2 separate regions of the Homo sapiens genome follow, and region 1 is linked to region 2. The links are contacts of gene promoters, found by promoter capture Hi-C in human tissues and cell types (Jung and others, 2019). All regions are on one chromosome and are shown on one strand. The core of a region is centred on a gene start or on the middle of the fragment in contact, and the rest is flanking DNA. Distances in the headings are between cores, read along the strand shown. Region 1 holds the start of RANGRF (RAN guanine nucleotide release factor). Region 2 holds the start of ODF4 (outer dense fiber of sperm tails 4).

Evidence for each region. The method cuts DNA at HindIII sites, captures the fragments that hold promoters and counts their contacts. A contact is called where the count stands out against the background at its distance.
Region 1: a contact is called between the fragment with the promoter of RANGRF here and the fragment with the promoter of ODF4 in region 2, in 2 of the 25 tissues and cell types used here (aorta and bladder).

What each region holds. Positions count from the first base shown.
Region 1 is chr17:8,286,123-8,291,233 of GRCh38, reverse strand. RANGRF (RAN guanine nucleotide release factor) reads right to left here and starts at 2,564. Exons shown (of 5, transcript NM_016492.5): 1 at 2,369-2,564; 2 at 2,162-2,278; 3 at 1,820-1,976; 4 at 1,646-1,731; 5 at 1,147-1,421. The coding sequence starts at 2,445. The coding sequence ends at 1,298. It overlaps SLC25A35 (solute carrier family 25 member 35), which reads left to right. Exons shown (of 5, transcript NM_001320870.2): 4 at 258-392; 5 at 556-1,173. The coding sequence ends at 729. RefSeq lists enhancers at 1,842-1,911, 2,192-2,311, 2,672-2,901 and a silencer at 2,062-2,111. The HindIII fragment of the contact is 21,210 bases long and covers 1-5,111 here.
Region 2 is chr17:8,336,804-8,341,741 of GRCh38, reverse strand. It overlaps ODF4 (outer dense fiber of sperm tails 4), which reads right to left and starts at 1,902. Exons shown (of 3, transcript NM_153007.5): 1 at 1,237-1,902. The coding sequence starts at 1,690. LOC124903916 (a long non-coding RNA gene) reads right to left here and starts at 3,685. Exons shown (of 2, transcript XR_007065607.1): 1 at 3,451-3,685; 2 at 2,984-3,319. The HindIII fragment of the contact is 12,554 bases long and covers 1-4,509 here.

The DNA of each region.
Region 1 (5,111 bases), core at 1,315-3,814, 51 kb after region 2:
GAGGGAGTGGCAGGAGGGCTTGGAGGTCAACTCTTTAGACCCTTCCCACAGTTCTCTTGTCACTTCCTCCCAGAAGGGGTACCTGAGCCTTCAGGGTACCCTGGCCTTCCTCCTTCTCACTGTTTTTGCACTGTTATAACTGGTGCAGTGGAAGCTCCCCCAGTTACCAGCATCTGTGTCCCCAGGGCAGGGACTGTCCTGTCCTTGGGGTGTAATAGTTGGCTGGTTGACAACGCTCTTCCTCTCTACCCCCTTAGATCTTTCCTCCCCAGAGCTGGAAGTTGGCGCTGGTGGCTGCCATGATGAGTGGCATTGCAGTTGTCTTGGCCATGGCACCCTTTGATGTGGCCTGCACAAGGCTCTACAACCAGCCCACAGATGCACAGGGCAAGGTAAGGAAGTGCTCTGGGATGCAGGCGGGAAGCAGGGGATGGGGAAGGCAGATTGCGGGTGCAGGTGGGATAGCCTGAAATGCAGCCTGTAGAGGTGCTGCCCCTGGTGGGCTCTGACAAACTCCTTCTCTGTGCTCTCCCTCCCTCTCTGACACACTCTCAGGGCCTCATGTACCGGGGGATACTGGACGCTCTGCTGCAGACAGCTCGGACCGAGGGCATTTTTGGCATGTACAAGGGTATAGGTGCCTCCTACTTCCGCCTCGGCCCCCACACCATCCTCTCCCTCTTCTTCTGGGACCAGCTGCGCTCCCTCTACTACACAGACACTAAATAACAGCCGCTTTCCCAGTCTCCACCAAATGAGCACTCCTTGGCCACTTGTGCCTCCACCACTATGTCCTGGTGACTACTGATTAGGTGACCTTTCATCCATCCATGGGGGACAGCCAACCCCACTCCCCATCTGTTCTCAGGGTTGAATCACTACAAGAGATGAGTTTCCCTTCTTTCCTTGGGTGTTGCTTTAAACCTTCCCTACCCATTCCCTGGGTAACTCACACCCCTCTCTCAGGGCTGAACGAGTCATCCCAAAGTGTATTTCCTCCCACTCACCACTGCCACCCTTGAGTCCCTCCTGCTCCCATGCACAGTTTTAAACTCCTCCCTCCAAAACCAAAGGGAATCGAGAGACCCAATTCCCAGGCGTCTGGGACCCAGGTGTCCTGTTAGATTCAAAGGCACAGAGATTATATTGATTATAAAGCAAGTTTATTCTGAAGAGGGATTGTCTTATGTTTACGCACAGGGAAGAAATAAGAGGAAACCCTCTTTTCAACCTCTTTTCCCCCTCACAGAACCGAGTCCCCAAGTTCTCAGCAACATCATGCAGTGCTTCAGCGCCTTTACTGGGGACCAAAGATGTTAGGATCGTGAAGGGTCAGACTGGTCACCAGCTGTTCAAAGTCACCCAGGCTCCAGGGTGCAGGTGACAGATTTTCGGGGCCAAGAGATGACCTGTTGTCAGGGCTTGGGGTGGGGGAACAGATGGAGACAGAACATCATCCAGGCCTGAGGTTTGGAAATTGCCAATTCCTGTTCCCCAGAGGACCTGGGTATCAGTTACCCCAAACCTCTGGCCCACTCCTGCTTCCTTGGAGGATCCCACCAGTGAGTCTCCCTGTTCTGTCCCTCCCAGCCCGATTCTCCTGGGAACCCAGTCATGAGATACCCGCCCGTTCCTTCCTCCTTACGGGGGCTGATTGAAGGTAAGCAAGAGATCAGTCTGGTACTGGGGCAGCCTCAGCAAGGCCTGATGAAGTGTCACGTCCTTTGCTACCTAAGGGGATCAGAGTCAGGATGCTTACCTGGATCTCTGCGTCCCCGCTACCGCCCTTCCAGGACATTACACACTCTCGGGCCCTCACCTGCTGGTTTTCCTTAGCTATCTGCTGCTTGCCAGAGAGGACCCAGGCTTCTTGACAGCGGCCCCTCAGGGCCAGGTTCTCCAAACTGAGAGGCTGAACAGACTCCACATGGACAGCCCTAGCCCCCTGCACGCCACCAACATCCTCAAAGTGGTACCTGGAGTAGGGAAGCGGGGTCAGGAAGGGACATCTCTGGTCGCCTCCCCGGGAGCATCTTTAAGTTGCAGGCCTGGCTCCCGGCCCGTGCGTGGTCTCACCGCCCGGATTAACCGTCGGCCGCGGGCCCCGCCCACTGGTCCGACCCCGCCCCTGCCATTGGCCAGCCGGGGGCCATTCCCTCACCGCGCAGCCGCTTCGCCCCGTACGTGGGCCTGCAGCTCGAGAAGTTCCACTATCAGGCTCTGGTCCGTCACGGGATGGCAGAAAACTTCTTGATTGTCCGGGACCGGTCGGAGGTCGCTGGAGTGAGGCGAGGCAGACCCTGGTTGACCCCGGTCTCTTCCCACAACCCACCCAGTCAGCCGCCCCTGGGCGCCCCGGCCTTCTCACCTTACGTCAATGGCCCCCATGGGGAGGATGGCGGAAAAGGCGCCCCCGAACAGCGGGCAGTCTCTCGTGGGCTCCATGGGTCTGAGGCTGGGTTATGGGCATTAGAAAGGTTTAAAAGAAGTCCACATTGGGTCACGTGGCATCGGCTCCCTGGGTTTCGCAGCTGCCACCGCCACCCGGGTCTGGCTTAGCTCCCGGATCCTTTAAGATTTGGCTCCGCCCTGCGCTCTCGTTGGCCAATCGGCGCCAAGACCCTGGGGGCGGGGGTCAGCGGCTTTGCTCCGGAAGCCGCGCTCTTAGGAGTGCGCCTGGCGGGACGGTGGGGTCTGCCTTGGGGTTGGACTTAGGGTTAGGGTCTATGTCGCCCCCGGTGGTCACGAGCATGCTCCCGCCAGCCTCCTCTTGATTGATTGATTGATTGATTGATTGACAGGTCTCGCTGTGTCGCCCAGGCTGTAATGCAGTGGCGCGATCACCGCTCACTGCAGTCTCCACCTCCAGGACTCAAGTGATACTCCTGCCTCAGCCTCTTGAGTGGCTCCTGCTCCCGCCACCACGCCCGGCTAAATTTTTAATTACTTGTAGAAATGGGGCGGGGTGGGGAGTGTCTCCCAATCTTGCCCAGGCTGGCCTCAAACTCCTGGACTCAAGCGATCCTCCCGCCTCGGCTCCCTAAGTGCTGGAATTACAGGCGAGAGCCACAGCGCCTGGCCTCCTCGTCCTTTTCAAGTGGTCACACCTTCCAAGAAGGTCGCCTGAGACCCTCCTGAGGGGCAGGTGCTCGTCAAAGGGGCCCACGTCTAGGTAGGGTCTCTTGAGTCAGGAAAGCATAGTTTCACGGTGTTCTGGGCCTCTGAAAGAAGAATGGGCTGCCACCCAGACCGCTAATTCATAGATCTGCTGCTGGGAATTAGGGGAACAATGCGTCCAGGTTAGGATTCAGGTCTCACATCTTCCTGAAAGTGAGAGCCAACCTGGGTATTAGAAATCTAATTCCTCTCAAATATTTGCCTTGGGAATGCTCCCGGGCAGGTGCAACCCCACCCCCAGCTCCACACACCTGGACAGAAGCACAGATTAAACCCTCTTTTGTTTGTCTTTTACAGATTTGTTGTGTTCTTTAAGTTTTAACTTCACTATATCATTTCAGTTCATTTCTCTATTCATCTTTGATCCTCAGCACCCGGCACGGTGTTTAGAGCATAACAGACCTGATATATATTGGGTTTTTTTGTTTTGTTTTGTTTTTGAGATGGAGTTTCACTCTTGTTGCCCAGGCTGGAGTGCAATGGCATGATCTTGGCTCACTGCAACCTCCGCCTCCTGGGTTCAAGCTGTTCTCCTGCCCCAACCTCCCAAGTAGCTGGATTACAGGCATGCACCACCACACCCAGCTAATTTTGTATTTTTAGTAGAGATGGAGTTTCTCCATGTTGGTCAGGTGAGTCTCGAACTTCCGACCTCAGATGATCCGCCTGCCTTGGCCTCCCAAAGTGCTGGGATTATTACAGGCGTGAGCCAGCGTGCCCAGCCCAGACCTAATATATATTGTTAAGTGATTGAATAAACTCAATGCAAATGTCTGGAACCCAGGAGATCACCCATACCCTCATGGATTCTAGATGTCACCTACTTCCCAGCCAAGAATTGGGCAAGAGGACTCTGATCTTGAGGCCATTCCACAGGGTTCCAAGTGCTGACCATACCTCTGGACCCTAATGACTTAGTGAAATGAAGCCAAAGGGTACATATTTATTGGTCTCTTACCTTGCCAGGCCCTAATGTGAAGGGCTGGAGATACAAAGACATTTAGGACACAGCCCCCGATGCCTCACTGAAGGAACAGTGGAGCACACTTTGAGTCTTTTTTTGTTTTTTTTTTTGAGAGGCGGTCTCACTGTTGCCAAGACTAGACTGTAGTGGTGCAGTCGTAGCTCACTGCAGCCTCAACCTTGTGGGCTCAAGCCATCCTCCTGCCTCAGCCTCCTGAGTAGCTGGGACTACAGGCATGCACCACCATGCTCCGGTAATTTTTGTGTGTGTGTGTGTGTTTTATTTTAGGGATGGAGTCTCACTGTGTTGCCCAGGCTGGTCTCGGACTTCTGGTCTCAAGTGATCCTCCTGCCTTGGCCTCCCAAAGTGATGGGATTATAGGCATGCGCCACCATGCCTGGCCCATACTTTGAGTCTTAAAGTTTGACTCAGAATTCAGTAGGACATCCTAGGGGTATTCTAGCTGGGGGAACATCAGGAGCAAAAACTTGGAGATGAGAGGGCATATTTTGGAGAAAGCAAGTGTATCTGTTTGGCAAGGGAGGGTAGGATGGGAATGGGTGGCAGGGAGCTGCAAACACAGTCAGGTGTGCAGGGTTTTTGTAGCGCACACTAAGGAGCTTGACTCCTCATTTCTTACTATAGCCATCAGACTCCTCTCTGAGTCTCATTTCCTCATCTCTAAAATGCTGTTGGGGGGCCAGGCGCCGTGGCTCACACCTGTAATCCCAGCACTTTGGGAGGCCCAGGTGGGTGGATCACCTGAGATCAGGAGTTCTAGACCAGCCTGGCCAACATGGTCAAACCCTGTCTCTACTAAACATACAAAAAAAAAAAAAAACAAAGGAAGAAATCAGATATGGATGTAGTTGAGTCTGACCTATTTCTGGGTAAAGAGAGTAGAATAAGTTTGCTGTATGAGGAATTTGACAGAGCGGGGGCGTTACAGGCTCTAGAGGGAAAGAAGGAC
Region 2 (4,938 bases), core at 653-3,152:
TGGTTTTCCCCAGGAGCAGGGAAAGAACTCCAAATTCCTGAGGGGTGAGGGAACAGCATAACCAGAGACTAACAACAATAAGAACCAGGTGTGGTGGCCACGGCCTGTAGTCTGAGCTTCTCCGGAAGTTAAAGCAGGAGGATCCCTTGAGCCTGGAAGTTCGAGGCTGCAGTGAGCTATGATTGCACCACTGTACTCCAGCCTGGGTGACAGAGTGAGACCTTGTCTCTAAAAAAATCAGCGAAACAAACAGAAAAAAACAAGGATGAGGAATGAAGCAGCTGCAAGAATTCAGGGAAAGAAGGAACACAGAAGCCAGATGTGGAAAAAGGAAAATGATCCAGAAAAGCAAGGCCTGAGGCAGAAGGAAAGGAGAATGTGTGGGATCAGGGCCTGAGAGGGGACATTGCAAGGAGTCCTCTCAAAGCTCTGGGTACACAAGACTAAGGAAACCCCCATCTCACTGGGGCTCTTGTCCCTGGTAAATTAGGCGATTAATGAATGATTCTCTTGTGCTGAGTCCATGCCCCTCGTAACTTTTTTTTTTTTTTGAGACAGAGTTTTACTCTTGTTGCCCAGGCTGGAGTGCAATGGTGCGGTCTCGGCTCACCGCAACCTCCACCTCCCGGGTTCAAGCAATTCTCCTGCCTCAGTCTCCAGAGTAGCTGGGATTACGGGCATGTGCCACCACGCCTGGCTAATTTTTTGTATTTTTAGTAGAGACGGGGTTTCACTATGTTAGCCAGGATGGTCTCGATCTCCCAACCTTAGGTGATCTGCCTGCTTTGGCCTCCCAAAGTGCTGGGATTACAGGTGTGAGACGCAGTGCCCAGCCTGATTTTTTTTTTTTTTTTTTTGAGACAGGAGTCTCACTAAATTGCCCAGGCTGGACTCAAATTCTTGGGCCCAAGCAATCCTCCCACCTCAGCCTCCTGGATAGCTGAGACTACAGGTGTGCAGCACCATGCCCAACTCTCTCACAGCATTCTTAGAAGCACAGATTTGGCTCTGGGTTTTATCAAAAGCAGTGACATTTTCCATTGCACCAATCAAATCTATTTAGCCAGGCTACAGGATGAGAAACGATCATCGGAGGTCTCAGTGCCAGTGGAACCATCTTGCAGGCCAAAAAGTAAAGATGACCAGAAAGAGGGAACAAGAATACATCCAGGGTGCAGATACAGAGGCCAAGACAGGCTGGCGGCCTGGGCTGGGATGGGGGGTGGAGGGGCTCACCTTTCCCATTCTCTAAGTCAGAACAGCTCCTGGATTTGTAAAAGTGCAGGAGCCCCATGGACATAACGTGGGCTGATGTGTGGATTCTGTTGCTGACATCCACGGGCCAGCGCTGGTAGAAGAGGCTCCTAGAGAGGTCCAGCCATTTCTTGGAGAAGGCCACGACCAATAGTAGGATAAAGGCAACCAGGCTGAGCTCAGAGGCCAACACCTGGGCCATCCAGCGGAAGCTGTGTGTGATTCTCCATTGAAAGGGCAGCGGAGAGTTCTGGCGCTGGCCCAAGGACCTGTTACTACTGAGGGAGAGGGTGGAGGACAGCAGTCTCCCATCTTGTCCCAGCTCACCTGTGCCCCATCCTGCCTCCCCACTCTTCCTTTCCTTTCCAGGTCTCTGATGTTGGTCTCTTTCTCCTTCTGACCTGGGGAACTCATTCCCAGAGTACTCTGCATCCATCTTGAGCACCACTTCACCCTCTGTCTCCCCTTTCCCTCACCAGACTCAATTGTCTCTTCTCATCTTTTGGATATTTTCATCAGCTGCCACCATGCAGCCTGAGGTCTGAGAAAGAATGAGGAAGTCTAATAACAGACCTCGATCAAATAAGAGACTCTTGATCCAAGAGAAGGCCCCAACCCATTCAGCAGGCCAGGTCCCCTAACTGCCACGGAATTTTCCTGGGGCACAGTGAGATGGGGGAGGGAAGCCAAGTCTTCAGCAATTTTTTTTTTTTTTTTTTTTTTTTTTAGAGAGAGAGACAGGGTCTCCCTCTATTGCCCAGGCTGGGATGCAGTGGCACAACCTTGGCTCACTGCAACCTTGAACTCCTGGGTTCAAGTGATCCTCCCACCTCAGCCTCCTGAGTAGCTGGGATTACAGGATTGTGCCAGCATGCCTGGCTAATTTTTCAATTGTTTGTAGAGATGGGGTCTTGATATGTTACCCAGCCTGGTCTCAAACTCCTGGCCTCTGCCAGGCACGGTGGCTCACGCCTGTAATCACTGCACTTTGGGAGGCCGAGGTGGGTGGATCACCTGAGGTCGGGAGTTCGAGACCATCTTGACCAACATGGAGAAACCCCATCTCTACTAAAAATACAAAATTAGCTGGGCGTGGTAGCACATGCCTGTAGTCCCAGCTACTCAGGAGGCTGAGGCAGGAGAATTGCTTGAACCTGGGAGGCGGAGGTTGCGGTGAGCCGAGATCGCACCATTGCACTCCAGCCTGGGCAACAAGAGTGAAACTCAGCCTCAAAAAAAAAAAAAAAAAACTCCTGGCCTCATGAGATCCTCCCCACTTGGCCTCCCAAAGCACTGGGATTACAGGTGTGAGCCACCTTGCCTGGCCTGTGGCTCCAGCTCTAACTCTTTCCGGAAATCCTGTTTCTCAGGCCACAGCTCAGAACTGTGGATCTGACACCTCCCTCCAGCTTCTGCCTCCCTTTACATATGAGCAATGGTATGTGAGAGGCCCTCCTGTGGTCTGCATATGGTTAATTTGTCTTCACCAAACCTCATGCTGAAATTTGCTCCCCAGTGTGGTGGTGATGGGAGGTGAGAGGGCCTAGTGGGTGGTGTTTGGGTCATGGGGGCAGATGCCTTGTGATTGGATTAACGCCTTCCCTGAGACCTCACTCCATTAGCTCCCCGCAATAGCTGGTTGTTAAAAAGAACCTGGCGCTGTTACCAAGCAAAAGTGCTCGCTGCCAGATGTGCATAGAAGCCAATACTCCAATACTAGGGCACTAGGTTTTGAGAAAAGGAAAGCTTTATTGTGAGCTGACCCACGAGGATACGGGAATCCAGCTCAAATCTGTCTCTCTTTGCTGGTCTTAAGGCAGTACTTTTATTAGAAAAGGTTTAGGGGGAGGATTCTGGGATTAGCGGGTGATTGGTGGAAAGAAAGGAGAAGTCTAGAAAGTCCTTAATCATGTCTGGTTATCTCCAAGGTTCTTCGTGGGTTGCATGTGCAAATTTGGTGGCGTTAGTATGAAACAGCAGGTGGAAATTCAGGCTGTGACATCAGCAAGCTCGTTCTGTGCGGATTGCTGTCAGCCATACGGGTTCCCACTGATTTCAGCCAGTCCTGTTATAAGCAAAGGGATTTTTCAGCATTTCAGCAAGCTGTTTCTTAGCTGCCATCCTGTAAACTCGAAAATGTCTGTTAATCACTGGTTTATTTAACTGTTTGGGGCACAGTTTCAGCTCCTCCCTTACCTTGTGATCTCTGCACAAGCCAGCTCCCCCTTGCCTCCACCATAAGTGAAAGCAGCCTGACGTCCTCAACAGATGCCCAATCTTGAGCTTTCTGGCCATCAGAATTGTGAGCCAAATAGCCCTTTTTTCTTTATAAATTATTCACCCTCAGGTATTCTGTTATAGCAACACAAAATGGACTAGGACAGTCCCCTTTTCTCTTCCTAGTTCCTCTGCCCTAACCCCAACCCCAAATGCTCACTGATGGAGCAGGGGGAGGGAGCAGGAGCTTATCCCCAGGAAAAGATCCTCCCTCCATTGTTCTTTGGACATGTCTTGCAAAGATGTCATCGAGCTTCCCATTGCTTTCCCCAACCCTTCACCTCCCTCCCAGCTCTACTCACTGCTAGTCAATCACCACCAGTTCCTTCCCTCTTCTTTTGACTTTTCTTTTTCCTTTCTTTTTTTTCTCAGCACCAGAAAGAGGAGGATGTAGGATGAGAATGGGTCCTAGAGGTGTCATGCCTTCTGAGATTGTTATAATTTTATTTATTTATGTATTTATTTATTGAGACAGTCTTCCTTCATCACTCAGGCCAGAAGGAGTCTCTGTCTAAAAAAAAAGAACATAGGCTTTGGGGTCCAACAGGCAAAGGTATGAAAAATGGGTCTTCCCCGCCTTTTTTTTTTTTTTTTTTTGAGATGGGATTTCACTCTTGTTGCCCAGGCTAGAGTGCAATGGCGCCATCTTGGTCAGCTAACTGCAACTTCCGCCTCCTGGGTTCAAGCAATTCTCCTGCCTCAGCCTCCCAAGTAGCTGGGATTACAGGAATGAGCCACCACGCCCAGCTAATGTTTTGTATTTTGTAGAGACAGGATTTCACCATGTCAGTCAGGCCGGTCTCAAACTCCTGACCTCAGGTGATCCACCTGTCTCAGCCTCCCAAAGTCTTGGGATTACAGGTGTGTGCCACCACATGCAGCCGGGTCTTCCTCTTAATAGCCCTGTGAACCTGGATGTCATATAGCTTCCTTATGCCTCAGTTTACTCATCTGTAACACAGGAACAATATTTTTCTCATAGACTTGGTAAGAGTGCTGAATGAGATAATGATCAAAAAGCACTCACTAGTTCATAGTAAATTCCCAGCAACTGGTAATTATGTTGTTAAATTATCATTTTAATTGTTTTTACAGTCTTTCACTAGCAAACAGGGAAAGAGCAAAAATGCAGAAGATAATTCCTGGCAAGCATCCTTGCCAGTCAGTGGCATCTGCAAATCATGGAACAGATTAACTCTCCAAATTAACTCTCCTTGTAAGCAAAAGGAGAGTGAACTATGAATCCTGATGTCACCTGTGCAGTGGGACCTCAGGAATGGTTGAAAGTTGAAATTCAAAGCCTGTGAGGGCGCTTCTTCTGGCTGTGGTCTCTGCCCCTCCCTGGGCGTCTTCCTCTGTCTCTGCAGACCAGCCTCTTCCTCTGCTCTGGTCCACATGGTGGGAAAC